7 separate regions of the Homo sapiens genome follow, and all the other regions are linked to region 7. The links are contacts of gene promoters, found by promoter capture Hi-C in blood cells and fetal thymus (Javierre and others, 2016). All regions are on one chromosome and are shown on one strand. Each heading gives the region's core, a stretch centred on a gene start or on the middle of the fragment in contact. The rest is flanking DNA. Distances are from core to core; before and after follow the strand shown.

Region 1 (2,851 bases), core at 221-2,720, 1.1 Mb after region 7:
AAATAACAACAAAAAAGTTGAATGAGTAGTCACAGGATTCCCAAGTTCCCTAGCAATTAAGTTGTTTTCTTCAGCATAGGCCAGAAGTTCACTCAATATAGACACAGTGACAGATATAAAGTCAAGGTTTAGACTAGAGAAACTCAAGATTCCTTCTAGTTAGAAACTATGATAGTCTGTGATGATTTGTCATGATCTCCAGAGCTCTTCAAATAAAAACAAAATTATCTCCTATGACCCACAAGTTCTGCATGGCCTCACTGAACAAACCCTGTGTCCCCATCGCACACATCCCCTACTTATCTCATCCCATGTTGCCTCTTGTTCTAACTGTCCTGCTTTCTTTCAGTCCCTCATACATACCGTGATCTCTCCCTTTCTCCAGACCCTTGCACATGCATTTATATTCCCTACAATGCCCTCCCCTTTCTACCTGGTTAATTCTCACTCGTCCTCCAAGCATCATTCCTTCTGAGAAGATGGCTGTCACTCATTGCACCAAGATAACAAGGATCAAATATAGAGGAACCAAGAAAGGAAAAGAGAATGAAGGAAGAAGTGACTGTGGAGGCAGGATGGGCAAGACTTAATGACCTTAGGGATTAAGAATCACTGATTGGATCACAGAGGCTTTGCCAAACGCAAACTTATTTACATTTATTTGACTATTTATCATAATTTACATCATTTACCTAGTACATCTTATTCATACTTATATACTATACATATATTATATACTAGATATTAAAGTTTGTCTTCAACACTCTAATGTCCTTTCTTCATCTAACTGCATGCTGCTTAGAAACAAATTATATTGGGCTGGGCACAGTGGCTCATGCCTGTAATCCCAGCACTTTGGGAGGACAAGGTGGGTAGATCACCTGAGTTCGGGAGTTTGAGACCAGCCTGACCAACATGGAGAAACCCTGTCTCTAATAAAAATACAAAATTAGCCAGGCACAGTAGTGCATGCCGGTAATCCCAGCTACTCAGGAGGCTGAGGCAGGGGAATCGCTTGAACCTGGGAGGCGGAGGTTTCAGTGAGCCGAGATCGTGCCATTGCACTCCAGCCTGGGCAACAAGAGTGAAACTCTGCCCACCCCAAAAAGAAAGAAAGAAAGAAAGAAAGAAAGAAAGAAAGAAAGAAAGAAAGAAAGAAAGAAAGAAAGAAAGAAAGAAAGAAAGAAAGAAAGAAAGAAAGAAAGAAAGAAAGAAAGAAAGAAAGAAAGAAAGAAAGAAAGAAAGAGAAACAGAAAAAGAAAGAGAGAAAGAAAGAAAGAAAGAAAGAAAGAAAAGAAAAAGAAAGAGGGAAAGAAAGAAATCATATTCATCCTTCTATGCTACAGTTCACCTAGCCCAAAGCCTTGTCGGTGGTCAGCATTATTTCTAAATAAATATATATTCAATGAATGAATGAATAAATTGTTGCTGTGGTTTGCTGTTTAAGTTTCCAGGTCTGTTAGCAAACCCCAGACTTGTAAAATACTTGAAGGGCTGTGTACACTCCTTCTTTGTATCTTTCTTTGTGCACTGCTAAATCTTAAGCATATGATAGGGTTCAGGACATTTCTGAGGAAGAAAGGAATGACGAGTGAATGATTTCAGGCTATTTCTCAAGGAGAATGAGGAGTTTATTCAAGCCACCACCAGTTTCTATGAGTATAATGAATGCATTCAAATGTAAGTCTACACAAAACCTATTTAGGTAAGGCAGGCAGCCACCCAACCTGGAAGGACATTAGATAGAGAGGATTATTGCTTTATCATCGGTGTCACACTCACAGCTGTGAACTCGTGTGCAGCATAGTTCTATAACCTCAGGGGGACTGTCAGCTGTGGATGCTGAAAACACAGTTCTGCCACCAACAGCCCCTTTCTATTACAATGAATGACCCTCCTGTAGTTGGTGGTTGCAGTTTCAGCCATGGTGGTAGTCAGGGTTTGTAACACATCTCTACCTTTCACTCACACCATCTCCCCAACACATTCCCAAGTGAGAGTCAGCAGCTAGCTCTTCAACAAGGTAGTTTCCCTATAAATCTCAGCAGGAAGCAGCCTGGTGAAATGGGAAGAACACAAGATTGAGGGCCAACTCTTGCATTCTGCTCCCAAATATTTAACAACTCCATGTTGTTATATGTAACAACTCCATGGAGACTTTAGGAAAGAGGAAGGCAACTAGTGGTTTGCTGAGCACCTATTCTGTGCCAGACACTTTGTATGTCATTTATTTAATCAGCATCATAGCTTTACCTTATAGTTAACATTGCCTCTTTTTCACAGCTGGGGCAACAGAGGCTGAACAACTTGCCCAAGGCCAAATGTAGGATGTATAGAGAATTTGTACCCAGTTTTTCGGGTAAACTATTTCCCTTTTCTCTGAGCCTCAATTTTACCTATAAAAGAAAGAGATTAGGTGTACATGATTTAACACCTGCATAATTTTTCTAGAAACTTTTAACCTATTCCCTGATTTGTAACCATTACCACAGGAAGTAACACTGTAGCAAGAAGTAAAACAGAAACTGTCAAAAATAGACAAAATGAAGAGATATACTAAATTGAGTTCATCTCTTTGAATATTGGATTATGGAGAAGGCAGGTAATCTTCATACATCAACCTTGTGTATTGAATTAAAGATATTTTTAATAAATTCAAATATAACATTTTAGTGATTCAACAAATAATTTTTTTTCAGATTTTAAACATTATGCTATCCTATTGTTTAGTTTGTCCAAAAGATATATGATTTATTGAAGCTATTAATGCACAATAATCTCACTTTTGTGCCTAGATTGGGACCCTTTAAGAAAAAAGTTTGAGGACTGGTGAATGGACACTTTTCAATGC
Region 2 (3,038 bases), core at 172-2,671, 1.2 Mb after region 7:
TTTTAGTTTTCTTTCTAAGGAATTGGAAGAAAACACAGGCAGATGAGTAGTTAAGCAATCCCAGAACTTTGCATGTCACTTGGCCCAGAACCAGGCACATGTAAAGGTCTTCACTTGCCAAAAACACACCAGGGACCTCTTAAGCAATCAAGAATTGCTACATGTGTGCAAGAGCTAACATCTTGAAGACAATTGAAATTGGTAATTCAGTTACCCTTTGTTTCTCATACATTTACCCTCTGAGCATCTCGACATGCTGGAGCATGGAGATCCAAACTGGAAACCCTTGAATGCTCCTTCTGCTTGTGGAAAGGTGACAAGGGCATTCCTTCTTGTTCACAACTGGGCATCATGAAGAGGAATGGAGGACTGGTGGAGGACTGGACTCTACTCTCAAGAATCTCTGGGGAAATGAGAAAAAAAAAAGGGAAACAGCGACAGAAGAAAAAGCAGCAAAACAAAGGACACACTAAAACCAAGAAGAGTGAAATAACAAAAGGAAGCCAAAGAGAAACTCAACCAAGGGTCAGGTTCTACTTCTTGTATAGTTCTTTTGGGACCACTGATAACATAAGTACATAAGTAGGAACTGATCCTCAAAAAATGGGGCCTTTATTTACATGAAACAAGAAGGACTTATTTTTGCTCGTGGCATTTGTTCTATTTAAAGGGAAGTGAACTACCTCCAGTCTTTCCCGCATATGAGTATTCCACTTCTGAAAATGGGATCTCAAATATATAAGACATTATTCACTACCTGCATTTGATATGAGAAGAATTAAAGTATTCCCAGCAGTTTTATTCACATTTATTATAGTGGGCCAGGAGATTTTCCATAAAAATGAGTAGCTCCCAGTGGGGAAAAAAATGTATAGAATTTGCTGATCTTGAACACAGTGTATTTATATAATACGTTTTATCACCCATAGGCCTTACAGAGCTAGGTTTTCTCCTGGGAAGCACTGTTAATATTTCAACCTCTGTATATGCCAAATGGAAACAAAGATTATTTGAAAAGGTAAATACCAGGCTTTCATTCTTCCTGGCACAATACCGATGCTGCATATTTAACTTGAGTTACTAAGAAAACTGAGGGTCTTTTGCAAGATGTGGCAACATTATGCAAATGACTAATTCCAGTTAAATTCTTTTAAGTGAAATATGTTACTCAGCGGTCTTTTGATTGCAAGTGATAGAAAACTAATCAAATTAACTTAGAGGAAATTTACTCATAGATAATGAAGCATCTCACATTATCAAATGAAGGGTTAAATAACCAATTCACTGGAAGGACGAGAATGCTGCTAGCCCTCAAAAATAAATGCAACCAGAGTTTCAAACAGTGAGGATTTTCTGTGTCTCTTATGTTGCTTTTCTCTGTATGTCAACTTCTTTCTTTAAATTTCCTCCACAAGGCAAGAAACATGCCTTCTGGCCAGTCCTAAGCATCAAAGCATCATAGCTAACAGCTTTTAATAACAAAAAAGATTTTACCCTATTCTTTATTCAAATACCCAGGCAAAGGGTTCTGATCGGTTTGGCTATATCGGGTGCTCATCCTGTAAGCCGTAAAGTGATCCTTGCATCAGACTATCAGAATATGCTCTTTCCTCATGTTCCGTATGCCTCCATCATATGATTGTTTGGCAAAGTAAGAGTGAATGCTCTCTTCCTTTCAGTTCAGCACCAAGAGCAGCATCATGGTAAGTAATTTAGGAAGCATAAAATCAATGTGGGAGTCCTAGTTGGTCTACTCGTGAGCTGAGACCTTCAGACAAATCGCCCACCTCTTTGAGTTTGAGTTTCGACCTCAATAGAATCAGAGAAAGAAGCCCTTTCTCAAAAGAAGGGCTGACTGATGCAACAGCATGGATGAATCTTTCATTCATTACACTGGATGAAAGAAACTGGGAGCAAAGGAGGACATAGGATATCATTCTGTTATGAAATTCGAAAATAGAGCCAGGCACAGTGGCTCACACTTGTAATCTCAGCACTTTGGGAGACTGGAGCAGGAGGATTGCTTGAGCCCTGGAGTGTGAGACCAGCCTAGACAACATAGAGAGATCCTGTCTTAAAAAAAAAAGAGAGAGAGAGAGAGAGAAAGAAAGAAAGAGAAAATCTAAAAGAGGCGAGACTGTCTTATAGTGACAGAAACTCAATCAATGGTTACCTGGGTTGTGTGGTGGAGACTATTGAATGAAGAAGACATGAGGTAACTTTCTGGAAAAATTAAAATGTTCTACATCTCGATTCAGGTGGAGTTACGTAAGTGTATATATTTTGTCAAAAGTCTTTAACCCATACACTTAAAGTGTGAGAATTTCATTTTATGTAAATTGCACCTCAATAAAAGTTGAGTGTCTTTTAAAAGTATATCAGAGGCTTGAGATGAGCATGAAATGACGCAGGGCACATCAAAGCACTTTTTTTTTTCTTTTTGAGATGAAGTTTTGCTCTTGACGCCTAGGCTGGAGTGCAACGGCAGGATCTCGGCTTACTGCAACCTCCGCCTCCTGGGTTCAAGCAATTCTCTTGCCTCAGCCTCCTGAGTAGCTGGGACTACAGGTGCCTGCCACCACACCTGGCTAATTTTTGTATTTTTACTAGAGACAGGATTTCACCATGTTGGCCAGGCTGGTCTTGAACTCCTGACCTCAGGCCATCCACCTGCCTTGGCCCCCCAAAGTGCAGCGATTACAGGCGTGAGCCACTGCACCTGGCCCAAAGCACTTTTAAATCATAAAATAATATGCATATATCCTTGTTTTTTACTCCGTTTAATAGTATCTGCGGATAGTTGTTTAGTTAAGTCAGGACGCTGATACAGCCAACTATTAGTCAGACTCTACTGCTATAAATTCCTCCTGCCTCTTTAGGCATATTTTATCTTTGCTCTTCCCATTGCAGGAGTCCACTCAACTAAATCCCAGGTAATAAGGCCTTTACAGTTATCCCAATCCCTGGTGACACTTGCAACCATTTGATCTGCAAGGAAGACACAAATTGCAACACGGACAAAATATACACAGCACAAG
Region 3 (3,042 bases), core at 496-2,995, 1.2 Mb after region 7:
CATCCCAAAGCTGATCGGGAAGTAGGAGGAGGAAATTATTAATACAGGCAGATAATTTATGTCCTAGATCCGGCTCCCGCCCTCTCCCCTCTCCCCTCCCCCCTCTCCCCTCTCCCCTCTCCTCTCTCCCCTCTCCCACAGTCTCCCTCTCCCTCTCTTTCCACGGTCTCCCTCTGATGCCGAGCCAAAGCTGGACTGTACTGCTGCCATCTGGGCTCACTGCAACCTCCCTGCCTGATTCTCCTGCCGAGTGCCTGCCGAGTGCCTGCGATTGCAGGCACGCGCCGCCACGCCTGACTGGTTTTCCTATTTTTTTGGTGGAGACGGGGTTTCGCTGTGTTGGCCGGGCTGGTCTCCAGCTCCTAACCGCGAGTGATCTGCCAGCCTCGGCCTCCCGAGGTGCCGGGATTGCAGACGGAGTCTCGTTCACTCAGTGCTCAATGGTGCCCAGGCTGGAGTGCAGTGGCGTGATCTCGGCTCGCTACAACCACCTCCCAGCTGCCTGCCTTGGCCTCCCAAAGAGCCGAGATTGCAGCCTCTGCCCGGCCGCCACCCCATCTGGGAAGTGAGGAGCGTCTCTGCCTGGCCGCCCATCGTCTGGGATGTGAGGAGCCCCTCTGCCTGGCTGCCCAGTCTGGAAAGTGAGGAGCGTCTCTGCCCGGCCGCCATCCCATCTAGGAAGTGAGGAGCGCCTCTTCCCCGCCGCCATCCCATCTAGGAAGTGAGGAGCGTGTCTGCCCGGCCGCCCATCGTCTGGGATGTGGGGAGCGCCTCTGCCCCGCCGCCCCGTCTAGGATGTGAGGAGCGCCTCTGCCCGGCCGGGACCCCGTCTGGGAGGTGAGGAGCGTCTCTGCCCGGCCGCCCCATCTGAGAAGTGAGGAGACCCTCTGCCTGGCAACCGCCCCGTCTGAGAAGTGAGGAGCCCCTCCGTCCGGCAGCCACCCCGTCTGGGAAGTGAGGAGCGTCTCTGCCCGGCAGCCACCCCGTCCGGGAGGGAGGTGGGGGTCAGCCCCGCCAGGCCAGCGGCCCCGTCCTGGAGGGAGGTGGGGGGGTAAGCCCCCCGCCCGGCCAGCCGCCCCGTCCGGGAGGTGAGGGGCGCCTCTGCCCGGCTACCCCTACTGGGAGGTGAGGGGCGCCTCTGCCCGGCTACCCCTACTGGGAAGTGAGGAGCCCCTCTGCCCGGCCAGCCGCCACGTCCGGGAGGGAGATGGGGGGGTCAGCCCCCCGCCCGGCCAGCCGCCCCATCCGGGAGGTGAGGGGCGCCTCTGCCCGGCTACCCCTACTGGGAGGTGAGGGGCGCCTCTGCCCGGCTACCCCTACTGGGAAGTGAGGAGCCCCTCTGCCCGGCCAGCCGCCACGTCCGGGAGGGAGGTGGGGGGTTCAGCCCCCCGCCCGGCCAGCCGCCCCATCCGGGAGGTGAGGGGCGCTTCTGCCCGGCCGCCCCTACTGGGAAGTGAGGAGCCCCTCTGCCGGGCCACGACCCCGTCTGGGAGGTGTACCCAACAGCTCATTGAGAACGGGCCATGATGACAATGGCCGTTTTGTGGAATAGAAAGGCGGGAAAGGTGGGGAAAAGATTGAGAAATCGGATGGTTGCCGTGTCTGTGTAGAGAGAAGTAGACATGGGAGACTTTTCATTTTGTTCTGTACTAAGAAAAATTCTTCTGCCTTGGGATCCTGTTGATCTGTGACCTTACCCCCAACCCTGTGCTCTCTGAAACATGTGCTGTGTCCACTCAGGGTTAAATGGATTAAGGGCAGTGCAAGATGTGCTTTGTTAAACAGATGCTTGAAGGCAGCATGCTCGTTAAGAGTCATCACCACTCCCTAATCTTAAGTACCCAGGGACACAAACACTGCGGAAGGCCGCAGGGTCCTCTGCCTAGGAAAACCAGAGACCTTTGTTCACTTGTTTATCTGCTGACATTCCCTCCACTATTGTCCTATGACCCTGCCAAATCCCCCTCTGCGAGAAACACCCAAGAATGATCAATAAAAAAATAAATAAATAAAGTTCTATGAACAGAAAAAAAAAAAAAATTTATGTCCTAGATCCATTGAGGCAGTGTTTTTCCTCACTAACAAAAGAGTAGTTTGGGCAACAAAAGTCCTGTCTGAGACTAGAACAAGACAGTAGTTCTGGGTCTGATGTCTTAAATGGCTAGGCCTATAGGTAGTCATTAAGTGCATCAAAGACAATTTCTTAATGGGTGGATCCTCAACTTGCTAAAACTTAACTGTAAGTGTTTAGAAGGCAGACTTAAGCATTTGTTAATTGACTGGCTTACTGGCCTAGGAGTTGAAGGTAACCGTGGCTTAGTTCAGCACATATGCACACTTTTAAAAGGAATTATAAAGTGTCTCAGATAACAAAAGAAATCTAAGTCTTCAGAAGTTCCTCTTGCAGTCAAGAAGGCGAGAGTGGTGAGAGCTCAGAAGGCTTGTCAACATTTTTTTATTCCATTTTTAGAATCACATCATTCAAAATGATGTTTTCAATTATTCCTGCTTTTAAATTGAATTTTGCCTGGAAACAAATACACCACACCACTTTTAGTGCGAACACCCTGTAAAAGGCACCGAGAATGTGGAATCGATTTTTAGACTGTGCACGAGGCCTTAATATTCGCCAAATCACACCACTCCTTTTAAAACATATCTCAAGTTGGTCATCTGCTGGGGAGCATTGCTTCATTCTTATTGATCTTCCTCCAACCCACCAGCACTAACCCGAATCCACCTTTCTCAGTGTGCAGTGTTGTGGTTTTTGTATTTATCTGCCTTCGTGCCTATGTTTTTTTGTCTGAATATTTTGTATCTTTTCCATCTCTATTTGATTGGGCCCAACCTCCTTCTTTACTAAGTGCCCCAAGAAACATGATATGATCCTATCAACACAGCTAATCAACTAGTCCTTATTTATTATTATTCAAGCAATAAGCATACACACAGAATTACTGCAACTGAGAAGACATTTTCTATTATAACTTTCTTCTTTGCCTATCACCTAGAAATTGATGGTTGCCTTCTTTTCCCCTTCCT
Region 4 (3,003 bases), core at 427-2,926, 1.2 Mb after region 7:
AAAACTGGATGAAATACTTTGGATTCACTCCTCACTCTGGTGAACAGCCTATAAAAATCTGGCCAGGTCCAAATTAGCCCTTAGGTTTTGTTTGGTGGTGGGGATAAATTTTTTAAAATCAGTAAAATTATGACTCTTTATAATATAAAAACAACATGTATCAAAGATTTTATTTGCCTCACTAACTAATGAGGAAACCAGGAAAGAAGTAACAGTTTATTCAGAGAAGACCTCTAAGACCAGACAAACATATAAGCCCATGAGTAATGCTGAAACGAATTTTTTAAATAGGTACAAAACTGGTTTCTTCCACTGTAGGGAGGGGAAGTCCATTGAACCTCCACTAGATAGAATTTATTTGCATGTGTATAGATAAAAATTATTTGCCCTACTGTCAGTTTTCTACATGTTAACTTATATCTACAGAATTGTAAAACAGCTCAGACAGTGAAAGGGAGACACTACATAGAATCAAATAATCGCAAAGGTATTCTCTAAACCAGTTGTTCCCAACACTTTTGCACCAGGGACCAGTTTCATGGAAGACAATTATTACACAGGATGGTGGGGAGCGGGGTATAGTTTCGGGATAAAACTGTTCCACCTCAGATCATCAGGCATTAGATTCTCATAAGGAGCGTGCAACCTAGGTCCCTCACATGCACAGTTCACAACAGGGTCTGCACTCCTATAAGAATCTAATGACAGGAGGCTGAGCTCAGGTGGTAATACTTGCTCACTTTCTGCTCACCTTCTGCTGTGCAGACCAGTTCCTAACAGCCCACAGATGGTACCTGCTGGTGGTTGAGGACCCCTGCTCTAAACAATGCAAAGTTTTCTACTGAAAACACCTGCTAATCTTTTGGTTCATTTAAAAGTCTTTCACAATTTCACCTTACTATAGTCTAAACCACTGGTTTAGAAGGATTTCTAAATTACCTCTAAATTTCTGTTACCTGTTGCTGCTAAACAGATAACAGAAGTCTACCTCTAGAATGCTGTCTCCTTTTCCTTAGGCTAACCTTTCTAGCAGAATGTTGGTTGGAGCAACTAAAAAAATAGAGTACTGGGGTACTGGGGCCACATTGGACTTACAGAGCAGACTATATTGTGCTTGTCTGCTCATAAAGGTTTGTTTAAAAATGTCTACACCAACAATGAAATTTACCAAAAGCTTGCTTACATTATAACTTTGTAGCAAGGTTGTGGTGGAATAGTAGCCCTTATCAACTTCAAACATTTTGGGCTATTACCTTTATCTATCAAAAAGAACCCAAGATGTACATAAACAAATTGACAGGTAGATTTGCAACAGGCAGAAACTACTACCATGGTTAGTCCCCCCCTTTTTTCCCATTTGGAAGAAGGTTATTAATTCCGCTTACTAAAGGTCAGAAGTAGCATTTATAAAAGATTTTGAGTGGGGCCTATAATGGGTTTTAACATCTGTGAGCACCCATCTGGCTGTTAATATTTTGCTCCTAGTTCACGTTTTGTCTAGTCCTAGTGTGGCATAGACAACCTACTCAACCTGAAGTCAAAGGAACCAGAAAACACAATTTTTATTCTTTATCTATTCCTGGCCCACTCTGCCAGCCCCAGATTTCTCTCTTGATGACAACCTCCCTTTATTTAATCTTTGAGGAAGGCGGCAGTGGGAAGAGGAGGGAGGCAGGTGCGGAACCTCAAGCTCAGCATCTCTGAGTCAATATTTTGTGCTCTTTTTAAGTAAGACTATATCACTGGACTATAAAATACTTTGGCAATAACTACATCAAGATGTAAACACGTATTACTGGTGAGTAAGTACACTCAGCTTACCCAGCTTGGTTATAGAATTAGAATTTCCATACACCTCCAAATGAACCCCTGAAAGCAGGCCTCAGTGAAAAGGAGATAAAACAAAGACTACAACATATGGTTTATCTTTTCAGTAATTACATTTTCAAATGTAATCTTATACACTTTTTCCTCTTAAATAAAGTCTTGTTTAAAACCAAATGTTTCTCTGTTAACACAGAGTAGGCAAATGAGAGTCCACACGTGGATATTGAGATATTCAGTGGTTTCATGGTTTTGAAAAGTTTGAATTAACATGCTGTACTTGTGGCCTCCTGGAGAATAAGGCTGTGCAAAGGGAAAAGTGGTTAAGAACTGGGCTTGTGTCTTCCACATAGACAAGCTTTTTCAGGCCACACTCAGTTGCAGAATCAGCATTTTCTTCAGAGGAGAGGGCAACTGTGCACTGTAACATATCCCACATGTCCGTATCAGAATAGCAAATTTCTTGCTCTGGGAAAGAAATCTACCTTCAGCTCGCCTCCTAAGTAGAAGGCTTCTACAGAATTCTTTATGTGTCTGAAGTCACTCTAAGTGGAAAATGTAGCTGCTTTTAGGTTTTAATAAAGCTAACGTGACCAACCATATTTATGAATGATCACATTTGGAGTCTGTTTTCTACTATTCTGGTGATAATATGAGATTACCACACCTTTCCAAATGCCTGAATTTTCTGTTCATGTGTCAGGAAACATGTTATTCCTTCATAGGGAAGAAAAATTGTCTTTGCTAATATAACTTTTTAAGAAATCAGACAGCAACAGGGCAGGAGTCTGAAGGCAGCACAGGGCCTTAGAGATGGGCTAGTGCAGATTAAGCAAGAGAAAGGCAGATGACATTTAGAAGTCAAAGAAGGATGGCAAATACTATGGTTTTCTTTGCTCAGCCCCTATTTAACCCTCCTTCTTCCTTGTTCCGCAGAGTGAGACAAGCTGAAGTCCACATTTCCCACACTTCTTAGCAACTGGTGTTGCGAATACAAATTAGATTCTACCAGTCAGATGTAGTTGCCTGAGATTTACAGATAAGGAGGGAAGGCTATTTTCACGCAGATGTCCCTGCTGGCAAACCATGCCATAAAGATGTAACTATTGAGAGGCCATTTCTTAGTCTGTTTTGTGTTGTTATAGCACAATACCTGACTCTGGGTCATTTACAAATTGA
Region 5 (3,043 bases), core at 132-2,631, 1.1 Mb after region 7:
GATGGGACGTATTTCAAAATAATAAGAGCTATCTATGACAAACCCACAGCCAATATCATACTGAATGGGCAAAAACTGGAAGCATTCCCTTTGAAAACTGGCACAAGACAGGGATGCCCTCTCTCACCACTCCTATTCAACATAGTGTTGGAAGTTCTGGCCAGGGCAATTAGGCAGGAGAAGGAAATAAAGGGTATTCAATTAGGAAAAGAGGAAATCAAATTGTCCCTGTTTGCAGACGACATGATTGTATATCTAGAAAACCCCATTGTTTCAGCCCAAAATCTCCTTAAGCTGATAAACAACTTCAGCAAAGTCTCAGGATACAAAATCAATGTACAAAAATCACAAGCATTCTTATACACCAACAACAGACAAACAGAGAGCCAAATCATGAGTGAACTCCCATTCACAATTGCTTCAAAGAGAATAAAATACCTAGGAATCCAACTTACAAGGGATGTGAAGGACCTCTTCAAGGAGAACTACAAACCACTGCTCAAGGAAATAAAAGAGGATACAAACAAATGGAAGAACATTCCATGCTCATGGGTAGGAAGAATCAACATCGTGAAAATGGCCATACTGCCCAAGGTAATTTACAGATTCAATGCCATCCCCATAAAGCTACCAATGACTTTCCTCACAGAATTGGAAAAAACTACTTTAAAGTTCATATGGAACCAAAAAAGAGCCCGCATCGCCAAGTCAATCCTAAGCCAAAAGAACAAAGCTGGAGGCGTCACACTACCTGACTTCAAACTATACTACAAGGCTACAGTAACCAAAACAGCATGGTACTGGTACCAAAACAGAGATATAGATCAATGGAACAGAACAGAGCCCTCAGAAATAACGCCGCATATCTACAACTATCTGATCTTTGACAAACCTGAGAAGAACAAGCAATGGGGAAAGGATTCCCTATTTAATAAATGGTGCTGGGAAAACTGGCTAGCCATATGTAGAAAGCTGAAACTGGATCCCTTCCTTACACCTTATACAAAAATCAATTCAAGATGGATTAAAGATTTAAACCTTAGACCTAAAACCATAAAAACCCTAGAAGAAAACCTAGGCATTACCATTCAGGACATAGGCATGGGCAAGGACTTCATGTCCAAAACACCAAAAGCAATGGCAACAAAAGCCAAAATTGAGAAATGGGATCTAATTAAACTAAAGAGCTTCTGCACAGCAAAAGAAACTACCATCAGAGTGAACAGGCAACCTACAAAATGGGAGAAAATTTTCGCAACCTACTCATCTGACAAAGGGCTAATATCCAGAATCTACAATGAACTCAAACAAATTTACAAGAAAAAAACAAACAACCCCATCAAAAAGTGGGTGAAGGACATGAACAGACACTTCTCAAAAGAAGACATTTATGCAGCCAAGAAACACATGAAAAAATGCTCATCATCACTGGCCATCAGAGAAATGCAAATCAAAACCACAATGAGATACCATCTCACACCAGTTAGAATGGCAATCATTAAAAAGTCAGGAAACAACAGGTGCTGGAGAGGATGTGGAGAAATAGGAACACTTTTACACTGTTGGTGGGACTGTAAACTAGTTCAACCATTGTGGAAGTCAGTGTGGCAATTCCTCAGGGATCTAGAACTAGAAATACCATTTGACCCAGCCATCCTATTACTGGGTATATACCCAAAGGACTATAAATCATGCTGCTATAAAGACACATGCACACGTATGTTTATTGCGGCATTATTCACAATAGCAAAAACTTGGAACCAACCCAAATGTCCAACAATGATAGACTGGATTAAGAAAATGTGGCACATATACACCATGGAATACTACGCAGCCATAAAAAATGATGAGTTCGTGTCCTTTGTAGGGACATGGATGAAATTGGAAATCATCATTCTCAGTAAACTATCACAAGAACAAAAAACCAAACACGGCATATTCTCACTCATAGGTGGGAACTGAACAATGAGATCACATGGACACAGGAAGGGGAATATCACACTCTGGGGACTGTGGTGGGGTGGGGGGAGGGGGGAGGGATAGCATTGGGAGATATACCTAATGCTAGATAACGAGTTAGTGGGTGCAGCGCACCAGCATGGCACATGTATACATATGTAACTAACCTGCACAATGTGCACATGTACCCTAAAACTTAAAGTATAATAATAAAAAAAAGAGTGGGATAGTAAAGAAGAGACAATTATAAAAAATCAACCTGAGATCAAACACTCAACTAAGCCAATGTCTAGGGAATATAAAATGGTTAATTCAGGCAAAGACCAATACCCTGCACCATCTTGCCCTCTAACACTTAAATGAAAGTTTGTGTTTGCAATATTGACATGAAGGCTCTAAAAATCCTCAGACAACAAAGAAAGATATAGCTATGCTTGCAACATGGGAATTTGCTAAGGGCATTTTGTAAGGATTATTTTAAAAGTGTTGAAATAATGATTTTCTGACTAACCTACAATTAACCACAACATTAAGTTAACCCAAATGTTGCAGTTCCTTCAAAGTTCTGCATAATTACAATCTTCCCACTGTTTCATACTTACCTCCCTAGGATTTTTTTCCTAGGGAGTTATTCTATATATTAAACAACCAAACACAGCCCAGGCATTCAAAGCTGAACTTCTTTCCATAATTAAAAAAGTACTTTAAAAAGCCAACTTCTTTCTGTACTTAAAATAACACTATCGGATCTGGCTACATGGGAATCCGGCAGAGGACATGTCCCACTGCCCTGGACTCATTGAATTACTGTGGCCCCAGGAGGTACATTTTTCTATCATTTTGGAATTCTGATTTTTTAAATTTTAAATTAATTTACTGCTTCAAAAGCACCAGTGATATTCTTGTATATCTCTGTCCCAATCAAAATCTTAATATGTGAATAGCACTATGCAAGACACAACAGAAGACATACAGAAGAAAACAAATTCTATCTTTAAGAAGCTTACCATTCAGAAGGAGAAACCAGATGTAAATATAGCAAACCATTAAAAAAAAAAGCACGCTGAAGGCCGGGCGCTGTGGC
Region 6 (2,908 bases), core at 49-2,548, 1.1 Mb after region 7:
GGACCCAGAACTTTCTATCTTCTCAAGTTCCATCTTCAGCATGCTGAAACTTTCTACTTCAGTGGCTTTTTGAGATATTTTTCTAAAGACAGTTCCTTCTCCACAAGAAAATTAACAGCACCTGTTAGATAAAATTCAAAATTAAATTATTTACAGAAAGTTGTTATTAGCCTGCACTTAACTTGCATCTCTTTGATGGGCTTAGTGTACAATGTTATCTTCCTAATGTTAATAATAGTGAAAGATCAGGCTGGGTGCGGTGGCTCATGCCTGTAATCAATCCCAGTACTTTGGGAGGCCGAGGCAGGCGGATCACGAGGTCAGGAGTTTGAGACCAGCCTGGCCAACATAGTGAAACCCCGTCTGTACTAAAAATACAAAAAATAAGCTGGGTGTGGTGGTGCATGCCTGTAGTCCCAGCTACTCGGGAGGCTGAGGCAGGAGAATCACTTGAACCCGGGAGGTGGAGGTTGCAGTGAGCCGAGACCACACCATTACACTCCAGCCTGGGTGACATAGTGAGATTCCGTCCCAAAAATGATAATAATAATAATAATAATAGTGAAAGATCAGTGACACATCCCACATTCATTTAAAGCATTTGCAATGTCTGTTCTCATACAGTTTGTTCAAGTAATGCTGTCTACACAGTCTGCACCAGAATGCAAAATTTTGAAGAGAACTAGCCCCAATCCTTGTCTATACTCCTTTTCATTCTGCCCCAGTGCCATCTCCTATTACAAGAAGCTTCACACATAGACACAGGAACACACTAGCCCGTACACCCACACTCCAGTCACAGACTGTACAAGATCAGCCATAGTCACTGGTGTGCTTTGGGGTGCTCATACCTGTGTGCTGCCTGCTCTTAAAAGAAGACACCTGGGCAAGAGGCCCTCGCAGGCCCTGGAAGTAGGCTTTGGCCACTTGGACATAAAAGTCTGGGGTTCTAGCCTCCTAGAGGGATAGCCACTTTATGTCTTTAAAGAACTCTAGGTGCCTTTGTATTTGTGGGCCCCCTTTTCCATAAAATAAATCACAAGTTATGTCTTACGACTGTGTTGGTATAGAAATAAATATATTAATATGATGTCAGATATGTTTTCAACCTAAAAGTTCATTCTTTTTTTTCTGATTTTAAAAGAAATTTGAACATTTTTGTGGCCCCTAACAGTAATAGGGGCCCTTGGCACTCCACCTATTGTACCTAAAAGATAAATCTGCCTGCCCGGAGCTTAGTCTTGAAGGGGGAAGGAGTGTGTGCTCTAATTTGGCCTAGAGATTCCTTGCCCCATGGGAAGAGGCATAGCCAGAGCAGACCCTTAAGTCTGGACCCTTAAGTCACAGGGCTCAGATTTGGGGTTCCTCATCCACAAGGCTAAGTGTGTTACCATTTCATAATAAACATGTGCACTCAAGTGGGCAGTGAATTTTATTATTATGAAGAGCGTTGAGTTAATACTTGTTCTGCATTTGTATTAGTAAAGATCACATTCTGGTGGCTCTCCTCCATAAGAGAACAGCTGGCTCTGAAAAATGAAAGAACTTCTAGGGAGTCAAAACAACATCTTGCAACTTCTAAATAACAATTTTTCCAGGTTCTTTGCTTCAGTGTTTCAAAAAAATAAATCTCAGGGTTTAGTTTGAGATTGGGAACTCTGTTACACTATTTTTTCTTGATATATTAGACAACACAGAATTAACCAAGAAGGCTAGGAGAAAACTCTGGGTGCCTGTGAAGTTCTATGAACCACCTCTCTTACCTCTAGTGTATACAGAGTGGACTAGGTGTTTAGTGTTATCCTCTGAAGTAGCTGTAGTTTGCTTCTCCTCCTCCCATTCAAATACTTTAAGCTTCTCAGTACTTCTCTCTGGAAAATACTGGGAGTGTGACCCCACCAGTTAGTAGAAGTTGGAGTGCCACAGGGCTGGGTGAGCTCAGAGCAGGAGCAGGAATGCCACCATCAGCCTGTGGGACTCTCCCCTTCTCACACCATCTTTCCATGTTCTGCCCATCATCCCACCTGTAAAGCATTAATAACTAGGACATCCTGTTTTCTTTCTCTCTTCCCACCCCACTCCATCCCTCCTAAATAGCTCTCAAATCTTCCACGTCTTCTTCATCTCAAAGCCAGTATCCCAGCTAAGGACCTCACTGTCTCTTACCCGAACTCTTGCAATACACCCATTCCTGGTTTCCCTGACTCTGATCCTTCCCCTCCCTCCCTACATTTCCATATTAAATTGCAATAGGAGGGATCTCACATAGATCTGTGCTGCCAGGTACCTCTCCCAAACTGGAGTTCAGGGAAATGTTTCAGTAGATATTAAATATATATTTTATCTTGCCCCCTTTGGTACAATCTTTTATTCTATTGTTTTTAGGGTGTGCAACAATTAAGTCCCTTCTCTCCCTGGTCCCAAAGACACTCTGTATTTTATTTTATTATTTTATTGTATTTATTTTATTTTATTTTATTTTATTTTATTTTATGAAGGAATCTCAGTCTGTCACCCAAGCTAGAGTGCAGTGGTGTGATCTCAGCTCACTGCAACCTCCACCTCCCCGGTTCAAGTGATTATCCTGCCTCAGTCTCCCGTGTAGCTGGGATTACAGGCGCCCACCACCACGCCTGGCTAATTTTTGTATTTTTAGTAGAGATGGGGTTTCACCATGTTGGCTAGGCTGGTCTCGAACTCCTGACCTCAAGTGATCCAACCGCCTCGGCCTCCCAAAGTGCTGGGATTACAGACGTGAGCCACCACACCCAGCCCTATTTGTCTTTTTTAATTTCAGTGAGGAAAAAAGGACCCCTCTTATAGCAAGAGGCATAGGCCCCTCAAAGAATTTAATTACCCTTTACTTCCTATCAAATACAATGACAAAAACTATTTAGATATCATCAGC
Region 7 (2,757 bases), core at 216-2,715:
GTTTCAGAGCCTTTAACATGATAATGTTCCAGAATGAGGAATCTAAGAGGACAGGAGAGTACCCAGTATCTCCCAAACTTGTTTGACTCCAGAATTCCTGTTTGTCAGAACATATTCTGGGACCATTGTTTCTCAGAAGTACATAGTAGGTAAGAACATAGTGGATCCTGACTGCAAAAATCCAGCTCTACCACTTACTGTGGTCTCGAACAAAGTACTTAACTTCTTTGTACCTCAGTCTCCTCATCTGCCAGATATGGATAATAAGACCCACTTTATAGGTTCATAGTGAAGATTAAATGACCATACACAACACACATCAAATTACTAAGTGTAGTATATGTTAGCTATTATTATTTTATTTATTCAGTGCTCTACTAATAACCTAGGCCCCATACACAACTGAAGTATAAATTCCAAAAGTGATAGAAAGTTCTTTGTGACTTTTCTGAACTCAGGAACATCTGAAGTAGAGAACAGTATAGAGATCTTGGGTTTGGGAGTACATTCAACAGAGTTTCCAGTTTAAATCATCTGTCTGGTCAGTATGGCTGCAGAGTCATGCCGAAATGAAAATGTTGACTTTGAGTAACTAAAGGTAAAATAAAAGAAAAAGGGAAGGTGGAACAGTGGTAAGAGTTATTCTTGTATTCATCTAATTTAGACTTAGTTGAAATTGAAAATGTCAAGTTATGAGTAGTGTAGAACAGTAGACATCAAACACTTAAAATTCCAGCTTCCTGGATTAATGCTATGGAAAGAATGAAGTTGGTTGATAATGTTTAGCCTAGCAAGAAGGTGAAGAAGAAAGCCATACAAGAAGTGGCTTAGGCAGCAAATTATAAAGGTGACCATTCATTCAAATCAGTAAAACAAACAAGTATACCTTATTCTTTAGGTAAAATTGATGGATCTCTGTTTTCCAGCAGTTCACAAACAGAGGGGTACATTGTAAACAACAAACTAACAAAATAAATTCTGGGATGGCAACCTGCTAAGGTATCCCAGAAAATAAGAGGTAGGACATGAATTTAAAAGATTGGAAGGTATGTCTTCAGTACTGGCCTGGCCCTGAGTAGACTAGTGCTCCCTCCCATAGGGGTGCGTGTGCACACATAATACAGGAGGGAAGCCTTCCCTTCTAGAGCAAGTGATTCAGCTTGGGAGGCTGTGACTGAGCTACACTAAGTAAAAACGGGAGACTTGATTGTCCTTCCTTCAACAGACCTGTCCAAAATGACTGGAAAGTAAATACCGTAAATCACTGTTGTCAGGGCGCACATTCCACCTCCTTCCTCCCTTACCCACAGCGGTCCTCATTTCCACACTCCCTCAACGGTTCGGGGAGAGCTCGTGGTCTAAGTAACGAGAGGACTTCTGACTGTAATCCTAGCACGTCACTTTGTTGAAGGCAGACACGTGGTTCAGAGAGAACTTATAAATCTCCCCTCCCCGGCAAGATCGTGATGTTATCTGCTGGCAGCAGAAGGTTCGCTCCGAGCGGAGCTCCAGAAGCTCCTGACAAGAGAAAGACAGATTGAGATAGAGATAGAAAGAGAAAGAGAGAAAGAGACAGCAGAGCGAGAGCGCAAGTGAAAGAGGCAGGGGAGGGGGATGGAGAATATTAGCCTGACGGTCTAGGGAGTCATCCAGGAACAAACTGAGGGGCTGCCCGGCTGCAGACAGGAGGAGACAGAGAGGATCTATTTTAGGGTGGCAAGTGCCTACCTACCCTAAGCGAGCAATTCCACGTTGGGGAGAAGCCAGCAGAGGTTGGGAAAGGGTGGGAGTCCAAGGGAGCCCCTGCGCAACCCCCTCAGGAATAAAACTCCCCAGCCAGGGTGTCGCAAGGGCTGCCGTTGTGATCCGCAGGGGGTGAACGCAACCGCGACGGCTGATCGTCTGTGGCTGGGTTGGCGTTTGGAGCAAGAGAAGGAGGAGCAGGAGAAGGAGGGAGCTGGAGGCTGGAAGCGTTTGCAAGCGGCGGCGGCAGCAACGTGGAGTAACCAAGCGGGTCAGCGCGCGCCCGCCAGGGTGTAGGCCACGGAGCGCAGCTCCCAGAGCAGGATCCGCGCCGCCTCAGCAGCCTCTGCGGCCCCTGCGGCACCCGACCGAGTACCGAGCGCCCTGCGAAGCGCACCCTCCTCCCCGCGGTGCGCTGGGCTCGCCCCCAGCGCGCGCACACGCACACACACACACACACACACACACGCACGCACACACGTGTGCGCTTCTCTGCTCCGGAGCTGCTGCTGCTCCTGCTCTCAGCGCCGCAGTGGAAGGCAGGACCGAACCGCTCCTTCTTTAAATATATAAATTTCAGCCCAGGTCAGCCTCGGCGGCCCCCCTCACCGCGCTCCCGGCGCCCCTCCCGTCAGTTCGCCAGCTGCCAGCCCCGGGACCTTTTCATCTCTTCCCTTTTGGCCGGAGGAGCCGAGTTCAGATCCGCCACTCCGCACCCGAGACTGACACACTGAACTCCACTTCCTCCTCTTAAATTTATTTCTACTTAATAGCCACTCGTCTCTTTTTTTCCCCATCTCATTGCTCCAAGAATTTTTTTCTTCTTACTCGCCAAAGTCAGGGTTCCCTCTGCCCGTCCCGTATTAATATTTCCACTTTTGGAACTACTGGCCTTTTCTTTTTAAAGGAATTCAAGCAGGATACGTTTTTCTGTTGGGCATTGACTAGATTGTTTGCAAAAGTTTCGCATCAAAAACAACAACAACAAAAAACCAAACAACTCTCCTTGATCTA

The links. The method cuts DNA at HindIII sites, captures the fragments that hold promoters and counts their contacts. A CHiCAGO score of 5 or more calls a contact.
Region 1: a fragment that was not itself captured here is called in contact with the fragment with the promoter of TGFB2 in region 7 in 1 of 17 cell types (monocytes); the score reaches 6.2 in monocytes.
Region 2: a fragment that was not itself captured here is called in contact with the fragment with the promoter of TGFB2 in region 7 in 2 of 17 cell types (M0 macrophages and monocytes); the score reaches 6.4 in M0 macrophages.
Region 3: a contact is called between a fragment that was not itself captured here and the fragment with the promoter of TGFB2 in region 7, in 1 of 17 cell types (monocytes). The highest score is 5.9, in monocytes.
Region 4: a contact is called between a fragment that was not itself captured here and the fragment with the promoter of TGFB2 in region 7, in 2 of 17 cell types (monocytes and M0 macrophages). The highest score is 8.4, in monocytes.
Region 5: a contact is called between a fragment that was not itself captured here and the fragment with the promoter of TGFB2 in region 7, in 2 of 17 cell types (monocytes and M0 macrophages). The highest score is 9.9, in monocytes.
Region 6: a fragment that was not itself captured here is called in contact with the fragment with the promoter of TGFB2 in region 7 in 3 of 17 cell types (naive CD4 T cells, total CD4 T cells and monocytes); the score reaches 6.7 in naive CD4 T cells.

The regions. Positions count from the first base shown.
Region 1 is chr1:219,474,429-219,477,279 of GRCh38, forward strand. The region is part of intron 1 of LYPLAL1-AS1 (LYPLAL1 antisense RNA 1); the gene reads right to left. Among named protein-coding and RNA genes, the nearest start is that of LYPLAL1-AS1, 81 kb to the right of the region's middle. The HindIII fragment of the contact is 5,351 bases long and covers 1-2,851 here.
Region 2 is chr1:219,498,750-219,501,787 of GRCh38, forward strand. The region is part of intron 1 of LYPLAL1-AS1 (LYPLAL1 antisense RNA 1); the gene reads right to left. Among named protein-coding and RNA genes, the nearest start is that of LYPLAL1-AS1, 57 kb to the right of the region's middle. RefSeq lists an enhancer at 2,734-3,038. The HindIII fragment of the contact is 3,970 bases long and covers 1-3,038 here.
Region 3 is chr1:219,544,872-219,547,913 of GRCh38, forward strand. The region is part of intron 1 of LYPLAL1-AS1 (LYPLAL1 antisense RNA 1); the gene reads right to left. Among named protein-coding and RNA genes, the nearest start is that of LYPLAL1-AS1, 11 kb to the right of the region's middle. The HindIII fragment of the contact is 6,469 bases long and covers 1-3,042 here.
Region 4 is chr1:219,525,982-219,528,984 of GRCh38, forward strand. All of the region lies in intron 1 of LYPLAL1-AS1 (LYPLAL1 antisense RNA 1), which reads right to left. Among named protein-coding and RNA genes, the nearest start is that of LYPLAL1-AS1, 30 kb to the right of the region's middle. The HindIII fragment of the contact is 1,008 bases long and covers 1,173-2,180 here.
Region 5 is chr1:219,455,892-219,458,934 of GRCh38, forward strand. All of the region lies in intron 2 of LYPLAL1-AS1 (LYPLAL1 antisense RNA 1), which reads right to left. Among named protein-coding and RNA genes, the nearest start is that of LYPLAL1-AS1, 100 kb to the right of the region's middle. The HindIII fragment of the contact is 3,156 bases long and covers 1-2,959 here.
Region 6 is chr1:219,435,293-219,438,200 of GRCh38, forward strand. LYPLAL1-AS1 (LYPLAL1 antisense RNA 1) reads right to left here. Exons shown (of 4, transcript NR_135822.1): 3 at 1,764-1,881; 4 at 1-121. It also overlaps a transcript of LYPLAL1 not described here. Among named protein-coding and RNA genes, the nearest start is that of LYPLAL1-AS1, 120 kb to the right of the region's middle. The HindIII fragment of the contact is 1,107 bases long and covers 746-1,852 here.
Region 7 is chr1:218,343,871-218,346,627 of GRCh38, forward strand. It overlaps TGFB2 (transforming growth factor beta 2), which reads left to right and starts at 1,466. Exons shown (of 7, transcript NM_003238.6): 1 at 1,466-2,757. TGFB2-AS1 (TGFB2 antisense RNA 1) reads right to left here and starts at 1,808. Exons shown (of 3, transcript NR_046268.1): 1 at 1,733-1,808; 2 at 1,305-1,518; 3 at 326-592. RefSeq lists a silencer at 1,394-1,453 and an enhancer at 1,834-1,883. The HindIII fragment of the contact is 5,586 bases long and covers 1-2,757 here.